Regions from separate parts of the Homo sapiens genome. Here region 2 is linked to region 1. The links are contacts of gene promoters, found by promoter capture Hi-C in blood cells and fetal thymus (Javierre and others, 2016). All regions are on one chromosome and are shown on one strand. The core of a region is centred on a gene start or on the middle of the fragment in contact, and the rest is flanking DNA. Distances in the headings are between cores, read along the strand shown.

Region 1 (3,129 bases), core at 1-2,500:
TTCACCTGGAGACGGAGGGGTTGGCTGAAGTTCAGAGGCGGCAACTCCTCAGTAGAACAGGGAGGGAGGACGCCGAGCAGCCTCTGAGCAGGGGCAGCCGGAGGGGCCGTGGGGACTCAAGGTCCCACTTTACCGACTCCCTTCCCCGGGTGGCCTGGGCTGGGACTGCACTCTGGGATCCTTCCCAGGTGGTGTCTGGGCCCCTCCCTCCGTGACCCCCAACACTCAAGTATGGTGGCCCCGATGCCAGAACTCACCCAACCGCTTTCCACGCAGGAAAACAAAGGCCTACTGAGTGCAAAGGGTGGTCCCTGGATTCCGAATGGAAGCAAGTTCCGGGTTCTTCTGGGGTCTTCGGGGACCAGGCCGGGAGGCAGGAGCCCCGCTGCTCACTTCCTCCAGGCCCGCTCAGCCGGCAGGAGCTTCCTCCTCTCTGCGGCAGGGCCCGAGGGGGGTGGATGCCGTGAAAGTGAAGCTGCCACAAACCTCCAGAAAGCTCTGCCCGGAGCCCCAGCGCCCGCCGTGCCGCCTGGGCCCCCGGGGTTCTGCAGGCCACTTAAACTCAATGCTTTCATTTCTCCCCCTCTCCCCGCCTTCCCCAAACCATGCCAGTTTCCCCGCAGGCTGTTCACCTCCAAAATGGCAGCTACATAGGCCAGAGCCTGGGGTCGACCCCCGCAACCCACCACCAGCACCCTGTCAGCCTGGCCTCCACCCTCCATCCCGCACCGCCGTCCTCCCACCTCCACACCCCGCCCCGGGCCAGGCCCCTTCCTCTCCCGGGACCACGCAGGAGACTCCTACCTGGACTCTCGGCTGCAGACTTCCCCACGCCCCCTGCCCGCCCCTGAGCTGAGGCTCCCACAAGCCCTCGGAGGAGTGAGTCACTTCCTGACCCCACTCACTCAAACCCACCAACGGCACCCAATAGCTCTTAAAATAAAATCCAGGCTGTGCGTGGTCTGTCTCTCTCAATCGCGGTTACATACCCGTGTCTAGAACAATGCTTGGCACAAAGTGGGCTCAGTGAATAAATATTGGTGGTGGTTGTTGCCAAGGGGATCGGGAAGGCTTTCCAGAGGAGAATGGGGCCTTGACGGCTGCATAGGAGTTTGCAGTGGAAGAAGAAGGGGTGAGAACGTGGCAGGTGGAGAAAACAGCGTATGCAAAGGCATAGCAGGGTTCGAGAAGGAGAGATCTCAGCACAGTAGATAGAGAAACACTTCAGACCCGAGCTGGTCTCTCAAGCTGGAATCTTCACCATCCGGGCTGAAATGGTGAGTTTCCCTAGCAACAGGTGACTGGGAAGCTATCTACCCTTTCTGACAGGTTAGGCAGAAAGTGGCTAAATCAGGTGGGATGCAGGTGTAAGGAGTGTGTGAGAGCAGGAAAGTAGGGTCGTTTACAAGAAGTTAATAAAAAATGACAAAACTTAGTACTGGTATTGTTGCTAATATTTATGGAGTCATTGGTGATGAAACAAACATAATTTTAAGGGCTTTCATTTTACTGGAAACTTCCTTGTGAGGTAGGTACAATCATCACCCCCATATTACAGAGGAAGACACTGAGGCACATGAGTCAGTCCCTGCCATTCTGAAGTGCCCGTGCTAGACTGGGGCTTGTAACAGGTGGGGAGAGAAGCCACCGTGCAGGACCTATTTTGCTGGGGCGTGTGTAGCAGGCTCAGCCCAGCTCTGGACACAGTGGTTCTGGTGGTGGCTTCTGACTCTGGATCACAGCCACATAGATGTAGCAGCAGTCACAGTCCCAGCAGCAAAGAGACGGTATATTCCCATGTGCTAACTGAAGACTGTTTAATAAAGGGACAGCTGGGGCAGGGTTAAAGGAACCCAGAAGAGACAGTGCTACACCCCAGGCTAGCAACATGGGGAGCTGTTACTTCTTCAAAACCTAGAGGGTGAAGGAGGGAGTGGGTGGCAGAGCCCAGGAACAGAATCACTGAAGCTCTAAGAGGGGCCTCGGGATAGGAGCTGTGGCCTTTGGTAGAGGGACACAGCCAGCTCATGGTGAACCAGCAGAAGGGCACAGCTGGAGGAATCAATGACCAAGCCTCACTCTCCTCCCTCCTGCCAGGGCCTCCCCTGCCCACATCCAGCCAGAAGCCAGAGAAAAGAAGTCCCCTGCTGCGGCCCATAGATGTGAGGAGAGAAAATGGTGGGGAGTGGATCTGCAGAGGTGAACCTAAAGCATTCAACCCAGAAAGCATGCTTCTAGGGCCAGCCTGACTCGGCAGCTTCCTTCAGGAGCCAGCTCTGCAGTATTCTTCCAAGAGTCCTTGCTGGAGGCGCTGCCTCCAGCCTTCCAACAGCTTGAGAATCACACAGCTTCCTATGTTAGATTCCTTTCTCCTCCAAACAACTGAAGAGACTCTAATCATCGGCAACTGAATCCCAATTAACTTCGGATTTGTTACCAGAAACAATTGCAGGCAACACGACCTCCAGGATGGGAACTGGGATTGGTTACTTGTTCTGGTTGATTTAAAGGCAGTGGGGACCTAGTAACTGTTAGAGAATGGAGTTCTAATAGATCGTAGCCTGTGATGGCAAAATAATTACCTGTCATCACTCAGAACGAAGTACCTATTAAATTGTGGCTTTGGCAGAGTTGTGGCTTCCATACGCAATACGAGCACAGGTTATCTAAGGACTGTGGGGTGAGCTTGTTATCATCACACCAAAGAGTTTAAAGCAAGAAAAGGACAGTCCCAGGGCTTTACATTCTCAGCTCAAGGTATGTGCAGAATACAGGGAGTTCTCTGATAGCCCTCAAAGCTATCTCTCATCTCTTGGGGCTGCAGGGCTGATGTAAGAATCAGATGCGAAATCTAATCCTGTATGGTGTGGAGTTACAACAGACTAAATCCACAACTCACAAAGCCTCTTGTGTGTAGAGCATTGTTTAGGGGAAGAGAGGGACTCTAAGAATTGGAAGAGTAACATGGAGATAAGTCCAAGCACCCCCAAACCCCAATTAAGAGAAAGGCATGGATAGAAGGGAATTATTCCAGCCTTTTTTTTTTTCAGAGACACGGTGTGAAATATACCTGTGCAAATATGCCAAACACTACTGAACTGTATACTTAAAAATAGTTAAGACAGTACA
Region 2 (3,129 bases), core at 269-2,768, 260 kb after region 1:
TGAGAAACAAACCCTCCGTCTGCACCCCCACCACACACACACAGGTACCCACATGGACAAATATTTCATTAGGACAAGATTCAAATGTACGGAATCTCATTTCCAGGAGTACTGAGCCGGAGAGGGGAGGGTGGGCCTAGGTCAGTGGAAACTAGAGAAGAGGATGGGATTGGGGGGTGTCCAGGGATGCACTCCAGCCCCCAGGAAGGGTCCCAAACACTGGAGGAGGAGGAGGAGGAGGAAACAACTTTCCTCTTTCAAGGTACCCCTCCCCACTAGACTCCAGTTAGCCTGCCCTGGAGGATGCCCAGGGTTGCCCTTCTGGGAGGCTACCCAGCCCCCAGAAGGCTGGGCTGCGACCCAGAGAGCGTAGGCAGCAGGGAGCAGTGGCTCACGCCTGTAACCCCAGCATTCTGGGAGGCCGAGGTGGGCAGATCACGAGGTCAGGAGATCGAGACCATCCTGGCTAACACGGTGAAACCCCGTCTCTACTAAAAAATACAAAAAATTAGCCGGGCTTGGTGGCTGGCGCCTGTAGTCCCAGCTACTCGGGAGGCTGAGGCAGGAGAATGGCGTGAACCTGGGAGGTGGAGCTTGCAGTGAGTTGAGATCACGCCACTGCACTCCAGCCTGGGCGACTGAGCGAAACTCCGTCTCAAAAAAAAAAAAAGAAAAAAAGAAAAGAAAAGCGCAGGCGCGGGGTGTCTTGAGTCCCTCAATCCCCAGAGGGAAGGAGCCCACCGTGGGGGACCGGCCAAAGCCCCACTCTTTGTCCGGCCCAGGGCAAATCGGCCCCTCGGCAGCTCAGCCCGTCCAGCCCCTCCCGAGAGGACACAGGGGACCCGGAGTCCGCAGGGGCCAGCACTACCCTCCGCCCCGGGTCCCGCTCCCTACTCCCCGTCGCTCCGAGACGCTCCGACTCTCAGTCCGGAGGTGAGGGTCTCCCTTCATGCACGGGCGCCTGATGGGGGTAGGGGTGGGGACGCACGAGAGTCCCAGGCTTCGGCCCGGACCGCTCGGGGTTCCAACGCCCCCTTCCCGGGCCCAGGAACAGCGCCCCCGCAGGAAGCATCTGCCTCGGAGGGGGCCCTCGGGATGCACCCCGCCGTGTCCGCGTCCGATGCCCGCTCCTCCAGGGCCCCGCGACCCCTGGGGATCCCCCGCTCCCCGGCCTAGGGGGCACCCACTCCGCACGTGGAGCCCGGGCAGCGTCCCCAGACGCACCCAGCGGGATACCGGAGAGGACGCCGACGCAGTGCAACGCCCCGGCCGAAGCGCCGAACAACATGCGCGCGTCGCGGAGGAGGTGCGGGGCGTGCTCGCTCAGGCAGCGGGTCGCCCCGACGTGGTAGAAGCCCAGGAAGCCGCAGCCCGCGAAGGACAAGCTCCAGCCGCGCTCTGCGTCGTACATGGCGGCGGCGGCGGGGCGGGGGCGCGGGTTAGGATCTGGGTCGGGATCGGGAATCGGCTCGGGTCCTGATCCGCAGCAGCTCCGCCCGGCGCCCGCAAGCGCTCTCTACCCTGCCTCAGTGTCTCGGCCAGGGCATTCCCAGCGCGACGTCAGCCCCGCCCCCCTCGGACCATGCAAATGAGCCGGCGGGAGGCCCAATGAGCGGGCAGGACGCCCTCCCGGGCGGGGCTTGGAGGGGGATGGGGGTGGGGACGACGTCTGGCGGGGGATGGGGGCGGGGACCGGGTCTGGGAGGGGGATTGGGGGCGGGGGCTGGGAGGGCGATGGCGGAGGACCTGTGCGGGGGGGTCCAGCCTGGGAGCTCCCCGCAGCGACTCGAGAGAAAGCATTTTTCCAAAACTCCAGCAGACACTGCATGTCCTGGAGAGAAACGGCTTCCTTCTGTTTTCCTTGACATCTGTTAAGTCGGGGGGTGGGAGGGGAGTCGCAGTTGGTGCCCACTTGATCCTTAACATCACTTTAACACTTTATCACGTCCCTTTTGACCCGGGGAGAGCCAGCCTAAAGCAGGCACCACCACCTGAAGAGTCTACTCTCTGCGTTGTTGCAGGCTTTCTGTATGATTGCCTTCAAGTGCTGGGGATTTTTTTCATTGAATGAAAGTAACAGGAAGTGTCCATTTCAAAGTTTCCTTTGTAAGTAAAAAATGTGAATGACGGGTGCTGGGGCTGGGGTCGGGGCCCTGTAGGAACTGGGGAGTGGGGAGTGCTTTGGGAAGCTGAGGCCTGGATGATTCCTGGTCCCTTAGTCCCTTAGTCCGTTCAGGTGCGAAAACAAAACACCTTAAAGCGGAGGGGCTTACAAACAAGAGATTTATTTCTATCTTTTTCCCCCCAGGCTGGAGTGCAATGGCACGATCTTGGCCCACTGCAGCCTCTTCCTCCCGGGTTCAAGGGATTCTCCTGCCTCAGCCTCACGAGTAGCTGGGATTACAAGCATGCGCCACCATGCCTGACTAATTTTTTGTATTTTTAGTAGAGATGGGGTTTCACCATGTTGGCCAGGCTAGTCTAGAACTCCTGACCTCAAGTCATCACCCACCTCAGCCTCCCAAAATGCTGGGATTACAGGGGTGAGCCACTTCGCCTGGCTTATTTCTCTGTCTCACAGTTCTGGAGGCTGGAAAGCCCAAGTTCAAGATACCAGCAGATTTGGTCCCTGGTGAGAGGTATGGCTCGTAGAAGGTGCCATCTTGCCACATCCTCACCTCTGGGCCTCTTTGATAAGGGCACCAATCCCATTCATAAGGGTGCCACCCTCTCATCAAATCACCTTCCAAAGGCCCCCGCCTCCAAAGATCATCACCTTAAGGTGTAGGATTTCAACAGATGACCTTTAGTGGGGACACAAACATTTGGATAGTAGCATGCCCTTAGGAGATGCCTAAGAGGCCCCTTGACCTTGACCTACCCCTGGCACTGGGTGGAGCAAGCCCACAGCAGTACATGGAGCCAAGTTAGACCTTGGTCCAGAGCTCCTCACTGGAGGACCCTGGTCTGCCGGGCCATAGCGCCCCCAGCTGGAGTGGACCAGGAAGCCCTCCCCCTTCTCCGTGAGACCTGGAGGAATGCAGAGTATGTGAGCTTTGGGGTCAGGCCTCTGCCCTCTTTGTGGCTCAGTGTCCTCAACTGCAGAATGACTGGTGGTGTTGTAAAACA

What was found. Contacts are between HindIII fragments. The CHiCAGO score rates a contact against its expected background, and 5 or more counts as called.
Region 2: the fragment with the promoter of PNPLA3 here is called in contact with the fragment with the promoter of PARVG in region 1 in 2 of 17 cell types (monocytes and erythroblasts); the score reaches 7.2 in monocytes.

The regions. Positions count from the first base shown.
Region 1 is chr22:44,179,046-44,182,174 of GRCh38, reverse strand. PARVG (parvin gamma) reads right to left here and starts at 1,250. Exons shown (of 14, transcript NM_022141.7): 1 at 990-1,250; 2 at 258-433. RefSeq lists enhancers at 1-532, 533-1,263 and silencers at 640-769, 1,940-1,989. The HindIII fragment of the contact is 15,489 bases long and covers 1-3,129 here.
Region 2 is chr22:43,922,194-43,925,322 of GRCh38, reverse strand. It overlaps PNPLA3 (patatin like domain 3, 1-acylglycerol-3-phosphate O-acyltransferase), which reads right to left and starts at 1,518. Exons shown (of 9, transcript NM_025225.3): 1 at 1,225-1,518. The coding sequence starts at 1,411. RefSeq lists enhancers at 216-958, 959-1,703, 3,120-3,129. The HindIII fragment of the contact is 6,907 bases long and covers 1-3,129 here.